3 separate regions of the Homo sapiens genome follow, and all the other regions are linked to region 3. The links are contacts of gene promoters, found by promoter capture Hi-C in blood cells and fetal thymus (Javierre and others, 2016). All regions are on one chromosome and are shown on one strand. Each heading gives the region's core, a stretch centred on a gene start or on the middle of the fragment in contact. The rest is flanking DNA. Distances are from core to core; before and after follow the strand shown.

Evidence for each region. The method cuts DNA at HindIII sites, captures the fragments that hold promoters and counts their contacts. A CHiCAGO score of 5 or more calls a contact.
Region 1: a contact is called between a fragment that was not itself captured here and the fragment with the promoter of AHR in region 3, in 1 of 17 cell types (activated CD4 T cells). The highest score is 5.1, in activated CD4 T cells.
Region 2: a fragment that was not itself captured here is called in contact with the fragment with the promoter of AHR in region 3 in 1 of 17 cell types (total B cells); the score reaches 6.2 in total B cells.

What each region holds. Positions count from the first base shown.
Region 1 is chr7:16,713,143-16,716,848 of GRCh38, forward strand. No RefSeq gene overlaps it. Among named protein-coding and RNA genes, the nearest start is that of TSPAN13, 39 kb to the right of the region's middle. The HindIII fragment of the contact is 964 bases long and covers 1,923-2,886 here.
Region 2 is chr7:16,757,062-16,760,586 of GRCh38, forward strand. The region is part of intron 1 of TSPAN13 (tetraspanin 13); the gene reads left to right. Among named protein-coding and RNA genes, the nearest start is that of TSPAN13, 5.1 kb to the left of the region's middle. The HindIII fragment of the contact is 1,883 bases long and covers 381-2,263 here.
Region 3 is chr7:17,297,052-17,300,703 of GRCh38, forward strand. It overlaps AHR (aryl hydrocarbon receptor), which reads left to right and starts at 1,601. Exons shown (of 11, transcript NM_001621.5): 1 at 1,601-2,278. The coding sequence starts at 2,214. It overlaps LOC101927609 (a long non-coding RNA gene), which reads right to left and starts at 2,269. Exons shown (of 12, transcript XR_007060234.1): 1 at 2,009-2,269. RefSeq lists silencers at 1,876-2,025, 2,076-2,185, 2,226-2,275. The HindIII fragment of the contact is 6,297 bases long and covers 1-2,950 here.

The DNA of each region.
Region 1 (3,706 bases), core at 1,155-3,654, 580 kb before region 3:
GTCTAAGGATTTGCATTTCTAACAAGTTCCCGGATGACACTATTCTGTGTCAGAACCACACTTGGAGAACTGCGGGGCCGAATGGTTACTAAGCTCCATTTCTGTGCTGACTTTCTGAAGTCCGTTATGTCTTCAGTTAAGGAGACAGATTGTATTTTGTTCAACTCTGTATCTGCAATTGCCATATAGCGTAGCACATAGCTTGGCAGGAAGTTGGTGTCCCGTAAAGTTCGAATGTCTAAGTGAGTGAATGTGCGTTAAGAAGAATACCTTTTTAGGCCAAAGGTGGTGGCTCACGCCTGTAATCCCAGCACTTTGGGAGGCTGAGGCGGGCGGATCACAAGGTCAGGATATCGAGACCAGCCTGGCTAACATGATGAAACTCTGTCTCTCTTAAAAATACAAAAAATTAGCCGGGTGTGGTGGCGGTTGCCCGTGGTCCCAGCTACTCGACAGGCTGAGGCAGGAGAATAGTGTGAACCTGGGAGGCAGAGCTTGCAGTGAGCCGAGATTGCGCCACTGCACTCCAGCCTGGGTGACAGAGTAAGACTCCGCCTCAAAAAAAAAAAAAAAAAAAAAAAAAAAAGAAATCCTTTTTAAAGAGTTGATCAAAAATTCATCCTAAATTTTTCCTATACCTTCTTTAACAAGTTCAGCATTGGAGCCACAGCCTGACTGCTACTTCATGAGAATTTGGATTAATGCACTAAACAACGACACATCATTATTGATTGTGTCATTCCCTGGAACAGAGCCAATACACTGTGGGCCCATAATTTATTTATAAAATACTCCTGACACTTTCTCTTATTATTTGTTTTCAAAGGAAGCAAAAAGAACTTTACTGTGAGGATTGTCTAACCAGGCTCTGTAACAATGCCAATTATTCTTTTTTAAAAGTTGTTACAAATTTTTATATATTTAGGGAGTACAAGTGCAGATTTCTTAGGTGCATAGATTGTACAGTGGTGAAGTCTGGGCTTTTAGTGTACTCACTACCCAAATAGCATACATTGTACCCGACAGGCAATTTCTCACCCCTCAGTCCCACCCCTGCCTTTCGTAGTCTCCAGTGTCTATTCTTCTACTCTATGTCCCTGTGTGCCCATTGTTTAGCTCTCACTTGTGAAAGTGAAAACATGTGATATTTGACTTTCTGCTTCTGAGGGTTTTTTCCCATAAAATCCTAAAGTTTTTTTTTACTTTTTAAGTATTTTCAAGTATTTTTATTTTGTATTTTTAAAAATACTTTTCAGCTGGGCACAGTGGCTCACGCCTATAATCCCAGCACTTTGGGAAGCCGAGGTGGGTGGATCCCCTGAGATCAGGAGTTTGAGACCAGCCTGGCCAACATGGTGAAACCCCGTCTCTACTAAAAATACAAAAATTAGCCAGTGTGGTGGCTCACACCTGTGGTCCCAGCTACTTGGGAGGCTGAGGCAGGAGAATAGCCTGAACCCGGAAGGCAGAAGTTGCAGTGAGCCAAGATAGAGCCATTGTACTCCACTCTGGGTGATAGAGCCAGACTCTGTCTCAAAATAAAAAAATAAAATGAAATAAAATAAAACACTTTTAAAGTATTTTAAGAGGCACAGGAGAGTGGGAAATGTCTCAATTCAAATAGTCTTGATTTTTTTATTATTATTATTTTTTAGTCCCCAGGGAAGAAGCAGTCCTTGATGTTTTACAACCAACTAAATCCTTTGAGGAATCTTAGACCTTTTCGTAGCATTATCTTTTCTTTTTAGCAGGAAATCCTCATGGTTTTCTGAGTGTAGTCTCCAGACTGGCAGCATTGATATTCCCTGGGGGCTAGCTGGACATGAAGACTGTCAGGATCCCCCCAAGACATGCAAAATCAGAAACTCTGGGGGTGGACTGAGCAATCTATTTTGACAAGCCCTCCTGGTGATTTGGATGCAAGCTTGGGCTTAGGAACACTGACCTAACCCAAACTTCAGGTGTCAAAACATCTTGGAACACATTCCCAAGGGGACATAAGGGCAAGCAGACAAGAACTGAGGCAGGACCAGGCTTTGGCACAGGATAAGGGATTAGTGAGATGGTAGATTTCATTTTTCCTGAAAGCTGATTAAAACTGGCAAATATCTCTGGAGAAAGATGTCCTGGCATCCTTCAGTGGGTTTTACCTGATGTAAGAGGATAGAAGATGTTAGTGCCCTATAGCCGTATGACAGCTAATCTGAACTCATTCCCAAGTGTGTGGGAACACAGTGAAAAGTATAGTCCTAAAACTGGTCTTTCTTGATTTTTTTATCTTAGTGAGCAATAAAGTGAAAATGTATTTGTTTTTTTTTTCTTTTTTCCAGTGTGCTCACCAACAATTACAACCAAACAACAATTTTTGTTGTAGTACCAAAAAACAACTTTTCTAAATACAAGGAAATCTAAGAGATGACTATTTACAACATATCTAAAACTTTCAGAGAATAGAGAGTAACACAGGTGCTACAGAGTAGGGAAAGATGAATTTTCTGTGTATATGCTTCTAGCAGCCTAGATAGGAGAGTACCAGGCTAACTAGCTTGCAACAAAGGATTTTAAAATTCTGATGCTGAGGATAAAATAGCAGATGAGATATTTGATCATGTATCTTGCTTTGGACCAACCTTAAAGTTTTTTCATGGATTTTAGAAAAACTGTTCACTTTGGCCTCTAGCGTTTTGTTCAAATCACAACCTGTTTCACGTCATAACTTGTACCTGCTAAATGGCTTTGAAATATTTTGAGCAATGACAATGGCCAATGAATTATTTACGAGTGCATTGTATAATTTTCATATATTTGAGTTTTAAAATATGTGGTTTTAATTACTTTCTAGTTTAATTTCATTGTGGTAAGAGAACATAAATGGTAAGATTCCAAAGCTTTTAAATTTATTGAGACTTGTTTTATAGCCCAGCATATGGTCTATCTTGGTGAATATGCCATTTGCACTTGAAAACAATGTGTATTCTACAGTTGTTGGGTGGAGTGTTCTACAAATATGGATGAGGTCTTGGTGGTTGATAGTGTTGTTCAGAAGTTCTGCATCTTTAATGTTTTTGTTTTGTTTTTGTTTGCCTGGTAATTGTATCAGTTACTGAGAAAGGGGTATTAAAATCTCAGATTATGACTGTAAACTGTACATTTCTCTGTTTAATTTGGCCAATTTTGCTTTATATATCTGGAAGCTCTGTTATTAGATGCATACGGATTTATGATTGTTATGTCTTTCTCATGAGTTGTCCAACGAAATGTCCCGCTTTACCTGGTAATAATCTTTGTCTTGTCTACTTTTTAATCCACAGATATCTGATTTTTATAAACAACTTTAACAGTCTTCAGTTTAACTTTCTTTTTTTTTTGAAATGGAGTCTTGCTCTGTCGCCCAGGCTGGAGTGCAGTGACATAAACTCGGCTCACTGCAACCTCTGCTTCCCAGGTTCAAGCAATTCTCCTGCCTCAGCCTCCTGAGTAGCTGGGATTACAGGTGTGCACCACCACGCCAAGCTAATTTTCTATTTTTAGTAGAGAAGGGGTTTTGCCATGTTGGTCAGGCTGGTCTCGAACTCCTGACCTCAGGCGATCCTCCCGCCTCGTCCTCCCAAAGTGCTGGGATTACAGGCGTGAGCCACCGTGCCTGGCCTCTTGTCTACTTTATCTGACATTGGGATGGCCACTCCACCCTTTCAGGCATATTGTT
Region 2 (3,525 bases), core at 72-2,571, 540 kb before region 3:
TTGTGAAGACAGGATCTAGATGAGAGACATGGAATGGGAAAATTAAATGGCGTATAAGGAATATACTGACTTTAGGTACCATAAAATTTAGGACTGTGGCAGATATTTGTGGGTTAGAGAAGTTGGGGGAATAAAGGAGGTGTGATTGAATCAAGGAAATGTAGAAATAGTGTGTGGGTCTTTTTGATACCATTTAGGATATACATAAAAATGAAAATGATTTGGGAAAATGACTTATTTTTAATAGTTTATAGGAATATTTTAGGCTGAAAAGATTTTGACAAGTAGTGAAAAAAACTTTTGAAAATTATGCTTAGTGATTTGTGGGAAATTTTAGAAAATATGAAATAAAATTTGTATTAAAATACGTAATATTTTGAAGCTTTATAATGTGTCTCCTTGTGCTTCTTAACCAGAGAAGAAAGCTCTATTAAAAACAAACAACCAAAAAAAAGGTAGCTGACTTTGTTAAATAGAACCAAACTGAAAAATATGACCAAACATATATTTACTGGGACTTTTTAAGAGTTGCCCTGCCAGTTTTAAAATCAGGAGGGAAATTTCAGAAGTTGCAGTTTTGTTTCTCCTGTGTGTGTTCATTCTTATAACATCTTTCCATGTTTGTTTCTTTCTCTTTTTCGTGATTCTTTTTCCTTATACTTTTGGTTGTTTTGAGAAAAATTCTCATGCAGCATAAAAATTATACTGAATTACTTCATAAACACCTTAATTTATATTTTTATCACCTCTGAAGTTGGGATGCATTTTATTGTTTCTATTTGTATTTTTGAGATGGAGTTTCACTCTCGTTGCCCAGGCTGGAGTGCAATGGCGCGATCTTGGCTCACTGCAACCTCCGCCTCCTGGGTTCAAGCGATTCTCCTGCCTCAGCCTCCTGAGTAGTTGGGATTACAGGTGCCCGCCACCATGTCCAGCTTATTTTTTGTATTTTTAGTAGAGACGGGGTTTCGCCGTGTTGGCCAGGCTGGTCTTGAACTCCTGACCTCAGGCGATCCACCCGCCTCGGTCTCCCAAAGTGCTGGGATTACAAGCATGAGCACTTTATCTACTATAAAATGCTCCCGGCCTGGGATGCATTTTATAGTAGATAAAGTGTGCCATATCTGTTAGATAAAAAAATACGACCATACAATTTATGGGAAGAAAATTCTGTTTTTAATCTGTTAGATAAAAAACATATGTCCATACAAATTATGGGAAGAAAGATCACTGGATTTATGAAGAAAACTGAAACTTTTCCAACTCTGTTACTAGACAAACAGCTTACTTTGAGTTTCAGTTTCTTCATATATAAATTGGTGATGATATTTTTCAGTCGTCCCCTCATGAAGCTGTGTAAGGATAAAATCAGATAGTATATAAATGCTTTAGATGTATAATAGAAATAAAATTAAGTTGTTACAGCTTCAGGTGGAAAAAGTTGAATTTTGCTGAATTTATAGACTTGGCTTCTTCTTTCCAGCTATTCTTCACAGGTAAAACTTGCATAAAGAAAACTCGTATAAAACAATATTTTGTTACTTTTAGTCTGCAATGATCAAGGTTAAGTGCAGAAGCACAGCTAAATATTTTAAAGCATGAAAGTTGGCATTAGGTTAAAAAGTAGTAATATTAAGTAGGAATTACTTTTATTTATCCACTGTAGAATCGAATATTTCTTGTAATACCCTTTTTTTTTTTTACATAATTGGCCAACCTTTCAAACGTGTCTGTGGGTTTCCTCTACCGTTTCTCTTGAATGAATCTACTTCCTGTAAAATTGTATTATAATTGTAACTGTTTGGGGTTATTTGTGAGTCTAATGTAAGTTTGAGATGTGCCCAAGTTATTTTCTGTTTTTTATTCTAATAATGAATATTAATTGAGCATCAATAGCAGTGAACAAAATCCCAATGGCTTGCCTTCATGGAGTTTATATTTATGGGGGTGGACAGATGATAAATAAGTAAGTAAATTATATATCGTATTAGAAGGTAAACAAGTTTTATGGAGAAAAATAAAGCGGAGTAAAAGGAAAGATAGGTGGGGCAGTGGAGCGGATGTGGGAGGATGGGTACACAGCTTCACATATGGTGGTCATGCTTGGCCTGCATGGAAAGAAAACAGTGTACGAAAGGTGTTAGACTGTTCTTGCATTGCTATAAAGAAATACCTGAGACTGGATAAAGAAAAGAGGTTTAATTGGCTCATGGTTCTGCAGGAAGCATAGTGCTGGCATCTACTTCTGGTGAGGGCCCCAGGAAGCTTACAATCATGGCAGAAGGGGAAAGGAAGTCCCTGTGTCACATGGGGAGAGTGAGGGGGAGGTGCCAAACGCTTTTAAACAACCAGATCTCACGTGAACTCAGAGGGAGAACTCACTTATCACTGAGGGGATGGTGCCAAACCATTCATGGGGGATCCACCCCTACGAATCACCTCCCTCCAGGCCCCACCTCCAACATTGGGGATTACATTTCAACATGAGATTTGGAGGAGGCAAATATCCAAACTGTATCAAAAGGCCTAAAGGAGATGAAGAACAGTTATCTAAGAAAAGTGTTTCAGGTAGAGGGAATCGTCTTTGAAAAGACCCTGATGAAAGAGTATTTCTGCTTTTTTTTCTTTTCTTTCTTTCTTTTTTTTTTTTTTTTTGATATAGGGTATTGCTCTGTCACGCAGTGGCGTGATCTCAGCTCACTGCCAGAGAGCTGTCTCCTGGGCTCAAGTGATCCTCCCACATCAGCCTACCTAGTAGCTGGGACTACAGGCATGTACCACCATACCCAGCTAATTTTAAAAAATATTTTGTAGAGACGGGGTCTGTGTTGTCTGGGCTAGCCTTGAATACCTGGCCTCAAGCAGTCCTCCCACCTTGGCCTCCCAAATTGCTTGGATTACAGGTGTGAGCAACTGTGCCTGGCCAGGAGGAGTATTGCTGGTTTATGCAAGGGACAGATGAGTCAAATATGAGTGGGACAGAGCAAGCAAGCAGTACAATGCAGGAAATGAGGTCAGAGAAGTCAGGGGTGGACCCAGGAGAGCACTATAGGGCCATGAGCTTTTATACCAAGTGAAATGGGGAGCCAATGGTGTGTTTAGGTTTGAGGACTGATATAGTCTGATTTTTATGTAAAAGGCTATATGGCTTTTGAGTTAAGAATATATTATAGATGGCACAGGTGGGAGCATTGAGACTAGTTACAAGGCTATTGCTATAATTTGCACATGAGATGATGGAGGCTTGGATTAGTATGGTGGCAACAGAATTAAAAGAAATAGATTCTGAGAGTGTTTTGGAGGTAGGGCGACCTGATTTACTGAAAGGGACAAGTCACAGATTACTATGATTTGTGGCTCAGGCTCAAGGAATTGGCAGGATAGATTTGCCGTTAACTAGGATGGAGAAGATGGCAGGTGGAGCAGACTTTGGGATGAATGAGAGGATTCAGTATTGGACGTGATGCTAAAGAAACCCAAGTGGAAATGTCAGGTAGCACTTACAGTAACCACACTGTTATTCAG
Region 3 (3,652 bases), core at 351-2,850:
AGATAAATGAAGAAATGAAAGAGAAGGGAAAAATAGAGATGGTTGATTCTGCCTCTGCAATTGCTAATTCATAAACATCAAACTTTCCCAGTGTACACTGTCTTCTTTGGGAATTTGCTCCATCTTTTTCCTTAAACTGAAAGGTGGCTTACTGAGGCTATCACTTTCCTAAAGGTCTCCCCAATACTGCCTAATTATTTTCTCTTATCACAGGATACAGGGTGGATGTCCATCTACTTCCTTGTTGTCACTTCCCAGATCACTTTCACTTTATGCTCTTCTAAAATTAAAACAAAGATCATCGACCACAAAACACAATTGTTCTTTTGTAGCTCATGCTAGAATACCCTCTTTGTTACATCTCCTTCATTTTTCTGATCCAAAATTTAGTAGCCTACTATATCTCACCCACTGTCCTTCTTTCCTCCAGCTATGGTAGAGAACTGCTCCTCCAACTTTATGTACATTTGAATCACCTGGGAGTTCCTGTGAACTTCGGGTTCTGATTTAATAAGGACACCCAAAGAGTCTGCATTTCCTGTAACTCTCAAAAGAAGCTGTGGAGTACTCTGAATAGCAAAGCACTGTAAGTGCTGTTTCTGTTAGTATCTAATCTATTAGTCCTAATCTCCCATTTATGCTTTGGCACTCATTCCCTCCTGCTTTCGGTATCTTAATATCTATCATTCCTTCACTCTTCCCTCAGGTTCCCTACATAGTTTATCTCTACCCCCTCTAAGCCGCTCAGTATCGCCCATTAAAGAACTAAACCAAAACTAGAAAACCCTCATTTAACCCTTCACTCCCCCTACATACAATCTGATGTGTCTCTCATCCACAGCTAAACTTGGAAGAAAAATTGCCTGCTTGAGGATGCCATTTTGTTATCTTCAGCTCAATCCTGTACCCACTTCAATGTTATTTGCAGGCCCATTACCCCAACACTGCATTCACGAAAGTCATCAGTGACTACACATTGAGAAAACAAGAATGACATTTTCAGTTCTCAACTAATTTGAATTTCTCAACAGTATTCAATATTGTTAATTACTCCCAATATTTTTCCACATGGTCCTCCATGACACAATACATAATAGTCCCCTTATTATCTATATTCCTGTCTATTGTAAAGACTTCCCCCGCACACCAAAAAAGGTCAAGGAAACTCCTAGCCTTCAAGTCTCAACTCAAATCTGGCCTTCTGAAGCCTTCCCAACTAGGAAAATATACAGTCCCATTGGTTGTCTACCAGTTGTCTACCAGTTAATTGTAATTCTTAGCCACAAGTTAGCTGACCCACCGTCTCTCAAACAGGTGAAGTTAAGCTCAATATTTGGCATATCTTGATATACTTTGTACAGTCTAGCTACAATAAGTTTGCCTATGCACGAAGATGGCTACCGGCGGGGGGGGGCGTCCTTACGTCCTACGTCATCACGTGCCGGGATGAGGGTGGGGCCCTCAAGGAAGACGGAATGGAATCCAGATGGGCGGGGGCAAGCAGGACGGGGCGGGGCTACGCGGGATCTGGGCGGGGCGGGGCCGGTGAGGGGTCGGGGGTGCTCCTGCTATTCAGCCGGTGCGCGCGGCGGCGGGAGGCAGTGGCTGGGGAGTCCCGTCGACGCTCTGTTCCGAGAGCGTGCCCCGGACCGCCAGCTCAGAACAGGGGCAGCCGTGTAGCCGAACGGAAGCTGGGAGCAGCCGGGACTGGTGGCCCGCGCCCGAGCTCCGCAGGCGGGAAGCACCCTGGATTTAGGAAGTCCCGGGAGCAGCGCGGCGGCACCTCCCTCACCCAAGGGGCCGCGGCGACGGTCACGGGGCGCGGCGCCACCGTGAGCGACCCAGGCCAGGATTCTAAATAGACGGCCCAGGCTCCTCCTCCGCCCGGGCCGCCTCACCTGCGGGCATTGCCGCGCCGCCTCCGCCGGTGTAGACGGCACCTGCGCCGCCTTGCTCGCGGGTCTCCGCCCCTCGCCCACCCTCACTGCGCCAGGCCCAGGCAGCTCACCTGTACTGGCGCGGGCTGCGGAAGCCTGCGTGAGCCGAGGCGTTGAGGCGCGGCGCCCACGCCACTGTCCCGAGAGGACGCAGGTGGAGCGGGCGCGGCTTCGCGGAACCCGGCGCCGGCCGCCGCAGTGGTCCCAGCCTACACCGGGTTCCGGGGACCCGGCCGCCAGTGCCCGGGGAGTAGCCGCCGCCGTCGGCTGGGCACCATGAACAGCAGCAGCGCCAACATCACCTACGCCAGTCGCAAGCGGCGGAAGCCGGTGCAGAAAACGTGAGTGTCCCGAGCGCGTCCTCATCGCGGGGGCTGGGCGCTCAGGCACGCGGGTGCGGGAGGCAGCCCCACCCCGCCCCCAAATCCCTGCGATCCTGGGATTAGGTCCATTCCCGGCACTGCCCGTGGAATCGAGGTTTGGAGGCCGGCTGGGAGACAGAGGACTTGGATTCTCCCGTTTTCAATGATTGCATTTTAAAAATTGTCCTCCCACCCATCCTCTTCCCCCGCACCAGTGCATACACACCCTCTCACATTTGCAACTTTGTTCTTTCTGATTTGGTCCTGATTTGTTGACAGCTCTGATCTGCCTTGGGCTAATGGATTAGTTAGTATAAACCTGTCTTGAAATCTCCTTCCACTTTTCATATCCGCATGGGTTAGGTTAGAGGACGGTCTTAATTCTCATTCTTCGTAGAGTTTGGTAAGGCGAGATGTTTTAAAGAGCTAAACACATGCTGACTTTTACGAAGGGGCTGAGTGCCTCTAAAGGTACTTTTTGGTCCCCACCAACTGGCTTTGTGTTGCGCTCATATTTACTTATTTGGCAGCAATTTTGTAGCGCTCATCGTGACCATATCGGTAAAGTGGATAGAAGTGGTAGCAGGTGGGAGTGGATGCAACGGACAGGATACGGTGGAGGATTTGTATTCTTCAGACATCTTTTTCGGAAGCTTGCTTATCACTTTTGGGGTGGCTTTAGGGTCTGTAAAATAAAAGATTTAGAACTGCATTTGAGAGAGGTTTTCATTCTTAACATCTACCTCTAATTCTTTTCCCCTTCAAAGTTTTCTTCTAGTTGAGTGAGTACAAACTTGCTTTTGTCGTTGTCGGTTGATTTTGGTGGAATATTTGTGTGAGATGGCCAATTTTTTGTGTGTGTCAGAAAAAACTATCCGTGCTCAAAACATTTCCTGTTGTGAGGTGGTTGTATTCATGTGTTTATTCCAATTTTTTTATTTCTAGATCTCTGAGTTACTTTACCTACATGTGTTTCAAGTTTTCGTAAACAATTTTAAGAACTCTTAAACGTCTTCTCAGACCAAATCAGAAGTGTGCATTTTGCTTAGACTCCAACTATCACTAATGGGAACCAGAAAAATAACACTTTAAGATTTACATTTAAAACCAGTTATTGGTTTAAAGTTTCATTCTAAAATTTTAGTTTCCTTTCAGAATTTCAGTTATCATAGTTCTTCAGAAGTATACTTATGAATTGGCATTAACAGAGGATAATAATCTATAAATAGACTGATGAAAATTTGGAAGTTTTATGGTACAGTGTGTCTTAAGGGAATATTGTCAAACCAGCAGTTTTCTACCTTGGCAGTTTGAGACATCGGTTATTAATACTTTTAATTTTGTAGAATGGTT